Linked DNA regions of Homo sapiens: region 2 is linked to region 1. The links are contacts of gene promoters, found by promoter capture Hi-C in blood cells and fetal thymus (Javierre and others, 2016). All regions are on one chromosome and are shown on one strand. Each heading gives the region's core, a stretch centred on a gene start or on the middle of the fragment in contact. The rest is flanking DNA. Distances are from core to core; before and after follow the strand shown. Region 1 holds the start of CHD8 (chromodomain helicase DNA binding protein 8). Region 2 overlaps DCAF11 (DDB1 and CUL4 associated factor 11).

Region 1 (4,165 bases), core at 136-2,635:
CTTACATGGAAAATGTTTTTCTTATCATAACTCTTTTTTTAAGGGTTGGGATAATTCCAAAGTACTTGAAATAAGTTTCTCATATCTTGCTCTATGAGGTTGACTAGAATTTGTTCTGAAACCTATTGGATGACCAATACAAAAGAAATTCCTAAGCAGAAGACACGATCTAATTAACTAACACAGGACACGATTCAAATCACAAACTCACTTTCGATATGTAATGTGCCCCACACCAGATGACTTCAGCATATGCTAACCTAGGCTGAGAATCCTTGACTGAGTCGACAAACTCAGAAAAGCATGGAGATGAAACGATCTGTAGACGCCGCTGTGATGGTAGGATGCAGCAGACACTGATAAGGCAGCTCCCCTGGCTTGTGTTTGGGGCGCTCCGCTGTTTATTCTTTAATAGAAAAAGACAGAGTTCTAAATCTTTGACTTCTGGCTCACTTTGCTTAGCCATACGAAAGAGATGGGTCCACTATATACCTTTTCTGTGAAGACCCTAACCGCTTCAAGACTGTCCCTTAAAAAGCAAGAGGCTGCTGCATTTATACAGCTGCTGCAGGGAAATTCCCTGCGACACTAGAGACAGGTAAATAAACTGCATTCGTTCCAAAGCAGGGGGAAGGGTCTTCTATCAGTGACGAGTTTACATAATGCAACGGAAAACCAGTGAGCTCTGCAGACCTGTCAAGGAGGATGCAAGGCTTGAGCTCCTCTCTTCCCACCATCTCTAAACATTCTCCAACAGCCTGCTCTTCACTGCCAGGAGACCCACAGAACTTACACCTGAGAATGAGTAACAATCTGCTTACGCTTACCCCATGCTTTCCTACCCACCTTTATTATTAAAATACAGAAGAAAAAAAAATAAAAAGAAGTAGAAAACCCTAACCACCTATTTCTGAATCCAAAGTATGGAGTAACCAAACGGGGCCGAGGAGTTTTCCCTTCTCTGAAGAGAGGAGAACAAGGCGCCGCCTCCAATCTACACTACGCCCAGTAATGCAATGACAAGCCCTGAAAACTCCACAGCGTCCCAAGCAGTCCCTCGCGGCTCGGCCCGGCTCGGACCCCGCGGCCCGGCAGCCACCCTCTCCCCCGGCCTCTCACAAAGGAGACTGGTTCAGTCCGGAGCATCACCCCGCACCTGATCCCTCACAACTGGGGGGCGAGCAGGGGGTGGAAGAGAGAGGAGAAGGAGTTACTTAAATCAAATCTCTGAGAGCCTCAGCTTTTGCTGACTCCTGGCCCAGCACTGAGGAGCGGGTGCGAGCGGGAAGCCTACCTGTGCAAGTCCTGGTACTTCCTTTCCAGGCAGCGTTTCAACTCACCCTCTCCGAGAACAAGGCGCCTTCCGGCGGAGCATGGCCAGCCCTCGCCTCAATCTAGCTTGCTAGTAGTCCATTCTCCCTAGGCTCCGCCCCCCTGCGCTCCCATCCGCCAATGGCAGCACCGAAGCCCGGCCTCTTCCAGCGAGCTAGTGTGAGCGCCATCCAGGAAGTCTCTTGAGGGTGGAAGGTCCTAGGAGGATGAGAAGGGTACGTAGGCGACCACAAATATGCCTGATTGAAAATAAAATCTGGCGGCGGCTCGCCTCTGACGACTCAGTTCACAGGCGGCCAGGCCCCTCGGCATCTTTTTTTGACCCCCGCCATTGGGGGCGCTGTGAACTAAAACAACACTTAGTTACCTACTTCTGGGAAGCCATCTTGGCTCGGACTCCGGGACTGGGTGAGAGTGCTTAAAGAATGTGAAGACCCTGTCGGTGTTCTGTCCGACTATCTAGGTCCAGCCCGAACATACTCTGCTGTATACACTTAGGAGGCCCCTCAGTCACGACGTGAAACCCTGGAGTAATGCCGTATGTGGTTACGGGCAACAACCACCACCACCCTCTCACTTAACTGTAGGAGTAAAGCAATTTTAACAAATCAAATAAGCAAAAATTAATTCTTCTAATGAGAGTGAAAGTTGCACTTTCCTAGGGTAATCCTTTATGGACACCTCACTCAAAATATCAGGACATGTATCTATTATAGGTGCTACTAAGCTTTAGGATTCACTGCAAATTTTCCAGTAGGGGCACTGTGAATCAGTTGGAAATCAAGAACAGGACTTAAGGAGGAATTCCTTTTTTTTTTTAAAGGCCTAATTTTTTTTTTTTTTTTTGAGATGGAGTCTCGCTCGGTCACCCAGGCTGGAGTGCAGTGGGGCGATCTCGGCTCACTGCAACCTCTGCCTCCCGGGTTCAAGCAATTCTCCTGTCTCAGCTTCCTGAGTAGCTGAGACTACAGGCTCCCGCCACCACGCCCAGCTAATTTTTGTATTTTTAGTAGAGACGGGGTTTCGCCATGTTGGTCAGGCTGGTTTCGAACTCCAGACCTCAAGTGATCCGCCCACCTCGGCCTCCCAAAGTGCTGGGATTACAGACATGAGCCACCATTCCTGGCCAAGAAATCTTTTTTAAAGTTGTGAGTGAGGGAATCCTTCCAGATTATTAAAGGAATTTCTCAAGGAGTAACATAATTGCATGGTCTTACATGATAGGAGCTCAGAGACATCAAGAAGTCATATGAGTGATAAGACTCGGCCTTAAGCTGGGCGCAGTGGCTCACGCCTGTAATCCCAGCACTTTGGGAGGCTGAGGCGGGTGGATCGCCTGAGGTCAGGAGTTCGAGAGCAGCCTGGCCAACATAGTGAAACCCCGTCTCTAGTAAAGATACAAAAAAAAATTAGCCGGGCGTGGTGGCAGACACCCATAATCCCAGCTACTCGGGAGGCTGAGGCAGGAGAATCGCTTGAACCCAGGAGGCGGAGGTTGTGGTGAGCCAAGATCTCACCACTGCACTCCAGCCTGGGCAACAAGAGCGAAATTCCATCTCAAAAAAAAAAAAAAAAAAAAAAAAAAAAAAAAAAAGACTTGGCCAAATACATTTCCCTGTGTATCAAAATCTGTCAGCCAAGACAGGCGCGGTAGCTCACGCCTGTAATCCCAGCACTTTGGGAGGCCGAGGCGGGTGGATCACCTAAGGTCCGGAGTTCAAGACCAGCCTGACCAACATGGAGAAACCCCGTCTCTACTAAAAATACAAAAGTAGCTGGGTGTGGTGGTGCATGCCTGTAACCCCAGCTACTCAGGAGGCTGAGGCAGGAAAATCACTTGAACTCGGGAGGCGGAGGTTGTGGTGAGCCTAGATCATGCCATTGCACTCCAGCCTGGGCAACAAGCGGGAAACTCTGTCTCAAAAAAAAAAAAAAAAAAAATCTGTCAACCAAATTCTCTCCTGGCTACTGCTGCCATTATATCAATTTGATGTTAGTATTAAGATTTATCAGAACAATGTGTTTGTCTGTAAATGCATATACAGATATAACCTTAATTATTAATAGTTTCTAGGATGAGAGCCTATTATCCATCTGGTACAGAATAGACCTGTCATCAAAGGAGCTATAGATATTATGGAAATGGGAACAGGTGTGCCTGAACCAATTTCTGGTACCTACACTGATCTTAGTATGATTTCCAATGGTCTTGGCCTTCAAAAACCAATGGACATTGGTAAGACTATAGATGGAAAAAAAAAAAAAGTGGACATTATTTCATAACTACCATTCTTCATATGGGGTGGCATATCCACTTTTTATAATTCTTCATGACCACTTCACTCAGAATACAGATGATTTTGCCCAGATACTTTTTTTTCTCATGCTTCCCTTACAATTGGTGCAATACCCAAGTACAGAAGGTCATAAGTCGGCTTGGTTAATAGAACAAGATATGGGCATTAATATTAAAAAACTGTGCTCCAAAATATCAAAATGGTATCCTTTATTGACTCTGAAAGCAGTAGCTCTAGGCAGAATGCTGTCTTTGACCAATCCTCTAATGCTTCTCAATTGCTAAAGATTGTTTTTTTGGGTAGTAAAAAAAAAAAAAACAAAAAAAAAACCTTCTGTACAGAAACTAGTTTTTATTACTTTAGTTTTCGCCCAGAGGTAAGGGGGCAGGCTAACTCCAAGTTCAACAGCTTCAAATCCTTTTTGGAATCAGATAGGATTTTAAAAACAAAACAAAAGCATAACCAAAGCAATACCCCAAATGTCTTCCAACTTCCTGTGGTGCACTGTCAACTATTACTACTACTACTGGGGTCAG
Region 2 (4,425 bases), core at 1,523-4,022, 2.7 Mb after region 1:
TGGTGGACTTCTCAGGCAGAGGCTCAGAAGGAAATGCTGTGAGGATGTTTAGCTTGTTGGGAGGTCAACTTAGTAGGTCATGTCCACAGCGTATTGGTCTTGCTCTTGTTCTAAGGAAATGATGTTAGAATGTTTAGCTCGCTGGGAGGTCAACTTAGTAGGTCACGTCCACAGCATGTTGGTCTTGCTCTTGCTGTAAGAGTAAAACTCTCTTTCCTACTGTGTTTTATAGGAGACCAAAAATAACAGCCAAGGTCTAGTCAGCCTCAAACCTCAAAATGAGTACCAAGTGGTCTAAGAGCTAGATAGCCATTGACTCTGAATTTGGTTGGTTTGGGGGAAGAAGTCCCCTCCTTTATAATGGGGGTCTCTCCACAGAGGCCAAGTGAGGTTGGTGCAGGGAGGAGGTGCAGCAAATTTACAATTCATTCAGGCCCTCTTGGACTCAGAGGAAGAGAATGACAGAGCTTGGGATGGTCGTCTTGGGGATCGATACAACCCACCTGGTAAGAGGAAAAGCCCCTAATGTTGGAAGACTTTTACTAGAAAACCTTTTAGTGATATTTTGAATGATAGGTTACATTGAAAGAAGGTACGATAATTTAAGGAATAAGGAGTCCTTACAGCCCCAGTATATTCAGCCACAGGGGTGGGCTTGGGTACAGTTCTGCTAACTGTCCTCTGAGGCTGGCAGACCTAGGATGAAACTTCTCCTTGGTACTCACAGTGGATGCTACCCCTGACACCCGGGAGCTGGAATTCAATGAGATCAAGACACAAGTGGAACTGGCCACAGGGCAGCTGGGGCTTAGGCGGGCCGCCCAGAAGCACAGCTTTCCTCGAATGTTGCACCAGGTAGGCCTCTCCACCTCCCAGCCTGGCAGCAGGCCTGCCAAAGCAGCCAGAAGCTCTGCCAGCCCCAGAGAAAAAGGAAGTCAACTTTCCAAAGTAGAAGCCTCAAGCGCTGGGGCTGGAGAGTTAACCAGCCTCCATCGGAGTTCTGTGGGACAGACTATGATGTGTGTGTCCATTTCTATAACAAGAGCAATATCTTTGGAGGAGGGGGCTTGATATGGCTGAAGTGGCCCTCTATTTCTGCTAGCAATATTCCCCAATCCCTTCCATTTAGAGAGAACGGGGCCTCTGCCATCGGGGAAGCTTCTCCCTTGGAGAACAGTCTCGAGTGATATCTCAGTGAGTATGGGGCTTGGTGAAGAGACTCTAAGGGCCAGATAGGTCTTATCTCCTAAACTTTGAAGGGGTAGGTGTTAAAGGAGCCTCAGAGATATTAAAGGTTAGGTTAAATGGGGTTGAAACTTTGAGAGTAAACAAAGTAGAAAAGTGTAGAAAATTGTAGAAATTTAGAGGATGGTGGAATGGTTGAAAGACGGGATTGCACTCACAGCCAAAAGGGAAGAATGACTGTTCTGATATTCCAGCTCTGTTAGGATTCTGCTGATTGGGACACTCCTTATCCTGAGCACCCCTCACCCTCACTTTCTCTCTCCTTCCCTAGCTTCTTGCCCAATGATCTGGGCTTCACTGATAGCTACTCTCAGAAGGCTTTCTGTGGCATCTACAGCAAAGATGGTCAAATATTCATGTCTGCTTGCCAAGGTACCAGACCCTGGTCCTATAAACTATCTTTTCCTGGAACATGGGACATTCCCCCTGACTGAGGCTAGAAAGCCACAGACGGGGAGCTCAGACCTGGCTTAAGGATGCTTAGCCAGACCATGTTTCCCATGATAAAGGGAAGACTCCACAGGTACACTGAGTGGGAGATGTCTAATCTAGAAAAGTTACAAGGAAACTGTCCCATAATTCTGCCTGATCTTTACTTACACAGACCAGACAATCCGACTCTATGACTGCCGATATGGCCGTTTCCGTAAATTCAAGAGCATCAAGGCCCGCGACGTAGGCTGGAGCGTCTTGGATGTGGCCTTCACCCCTGATGGGAACCACTTCCTCTACTCTAGCTGGTCTGATTACAGTGAGTATGCACCAGGCTTCCACTGACTCTCCAGCCTGGGACCTGAGGTTTCCATGTGCCTGTCCCCTCTGAGCCAGGATCCCTCACTTTGTCCTGGGAAAATCACTCCCAAAGTGCTCCAGTACCCTTGTCCCCTGTTTGATCTCTTCCCTAGCTTCACTTCCACTCTTCTTCCCCCATCCCTGAAAGATTCTTGTTTTTCTTGCTTCTCTTAGTTCATATCTGCAATATCTATGGTGAGGGAGATACACACACTGCCCTGGATCTCAGGTACTGGCTTCCCTTTCTGGTCAGACTCATCAGAAACTTCTCAAGGGAAGCTCTTTGGGAGCAAACCTCTTGAGTTGGAAGTTCTGTTTAGGGGAAAAAGTATACTGGTGGGTCTGTGTGCATTCCTGGGAGGGAAGCACCATCTTGTCAGCCAGAGGACTGGGTAAAATAGATGGTTGCAGGATGATTTCTGGGTTCTCACTGAGCATCTGCATTATGGTGCATGTTAGCCAGACTTCTTTTTTCCCCTGGGGATGTGCCTTACAACCGTTGTCAGATTTTATGTAGATTAACAAAAGCTGAAGGAAGTCCACTTAACCCAGCTCCTTCTTGCTTTTAGGCCAGATGAGCGTCGCTTTGCTGTCTTCTCCATTGCTGTCTCCTCAGATGGACGAGAAGTACTAGGAGGGTAAGTGCTTGTGGGGTATGTTTCCCTCAATAACAAGATGGGGGTTCTGCCAGAGATGAGTTCTGCTGTTACACAGATGGCACTGGCAGCTGCAGAGAACAACCAGACCTTCTCCCAAGGTCAGGATTTACAAGTTGCTTCACCCCTTGCTCTCCATTTCCCCAGCACGAGATTGGAGGTGTCAAGCCTCCTTGAAACACAGCTAACTCTTCCCCCACTTCCTGTATAAAAAGAGCAAAGGGCTTGACCCAGAGCAGGATTTCTCAGTGGAACTCTCTAGAGCATATACCACGTTGGTCCTCTCGATCATGGCTCCAGGACCCTCCTTTATCCCTTCCCTTTCAGGGCCAATGATGGCTGCCTGTATGTCTTTGACCGAGAACAGAACCGGCGCACCCTTCAGGTATGGCTCCTGAGATAGAGCCTCTGCCTCCTGGTTTTTGGCTTTTTATAAGACCTAGAAAGAGGTCTTATATCCTGGCCTCCTTTTCGCCTAGATTGAGTCCCATGAGGATGATGTGAATGCAGTGGCCTTTGCTGATATAAGCTCCCAAATCCTGTTCTCTGGGGGAGATGATGCCATCTGCAAAGTGTGGGATCGACGCACCATGCGGGAGGATGACCCCAAGCCTGTGGGTGCACTGGCTGGACACCAGGATGGCATCACCTTCATTGACAGCAAGGTGGGCCAGAAGTCAGGACTGTACAGCCAGGCCGCTAAGGTTCTAGTTGCCCAGGAGGGCATGAAAGCGGACTGGTGTGGGAATTTGACAAGCTCCTTATTAACCAAGGTTTGTAAGAGTTGGAGTTTAGGGAAGGGGCTCAAGCCAGGGAACATGAATTCCATCTGTACTCACCAGTCCTCAAGGAGCAGGGCAGGGCTTTCCGTACAAGAAAAATGGAAGACCGGTCAGGTACAGCGGCTCACACCTGTAATCCTAGCACTTTGGGAGGCTGAGGTGGGAGGATCACTTGAGCTCAGGCGTTCCAGACCAGCCTGTGAAACCTAGCGAGACCTCATCTCTATTTATTTAAAAAAAAAAACAAAAAAAAAAAACTAAGGCCAGATGCCGTGGCTCATGCCTGTAATCCCAGCACTTTGGGAGGCCGAGGCGGGCAGATCACGAGGTCAGGAGATCGAGACCATCCTGGCTAACATGGTGAAACCCCGTCTCTACTAAACATACAAAAAAATTAGCTGGGTGTGGTGGCAGTCGCCTGTAGTCCCATCTACTCAAGAGGCTGAGGCAGGAGAATGGCGTGAACCCGGGAGGCGGAGCTTGCAGTGAGCCGAGATCACCCCACTACACTCCAGCCTGGGTGACAGAGCAAGACTCCATCTCAAAAAAAAATTAGTTAATTAAAAATTAAAAAAAGAAAAATGGAAGACAATCTGATTAAGGCTAGAATAGGAAAGCCGGCCAGTAGCCTGGGCAAGGAAAGGAAAACCTAGCCAGGTGGTAGGATCTGAGGCAGAACGCTGGAAATGAGTTCACCTGGATGAAGAGAGGCAAGTAAAGCCAGAGGCCAGAGTTCTTCTGCTCAACTAGAGAACGGGAACTAGACTGACAGGCGCCGACATTTGCAAGCTCTGATGCTTCACTATCCACCTTTGGATTCATAGGGTGATGCCCGGTATCTGATCTCCAACTCTAAAGACCAGACCATCAAACTCTGGGATATCCGACGCTTTTCCAGCCGGGAAGGCATGGAAGCTTCACGCCAGGCTGCCACACAGCAAAACTGGGAC

Evidence for each region. The method cuts DNA at HindIII sites, captures the fragments that hold promoters and counts their contacts. A CHiCAGO score of 5 or more calls a contact.
Region 2: a fragment that was not itself captured here is called in contact with the fragment with the promoter of CHD8 in region 1 in 1 of 17 cell types (total CD4 T cells); the score reaches 5.2 in total CD4 T cells.

Annotation. Positions count from the first base shown.
Region 1 is chr14:21,454,738-21,458,902 of GRCh38, forward strand. It overlaps CHD8 (chromodomain helicase DNA binding protein 8), which reads right to left and starts at 1,386. Exons shown (of 38, transcript NM_001170629.2): 1 at 1,295-1,386. It overlaps LOC124903283 (a long non-coding RNA gene), which reads left to right and starts at 1,660. Exons shown (of 2, transcript XR_007064064.1): 1 at 1,660-1,740. RefSeq lists enhancers at 1,129-1,818, 1,683-2,234, 1,849-1,898, 1,909-1,958, 2,235-2,786. The HindIII fragment of the contact is 18,756 bases long and covers 1-2,057 here.
Region 2 is chr14:24,116,539-24,120,963 of GRCh38, forward strand. It overlaps DCAF11 (DDB1 and CUL4 associated factor 11), which reads left to right. Exons shown (of 15, transcript NM_025230.5): 3 at 379-506; 4 at 728-855; 5 at 1,130-1,194; 6 at 1,517-1,617; 7 at 1,850-1,996; 8 at 2,212-2,266; 9 at 2,607-2,675; 10 at 3,021-3,078; 11 at 3,173-3,358; 12 at 4,300-4,425. Among named protein-coding and RNA genes, the nearest start is that of NRL, 3.8 kb to the left of the region's middle. The HindIII fragment of the contact is 3,232 bases long and covers 1,157-4,388 here.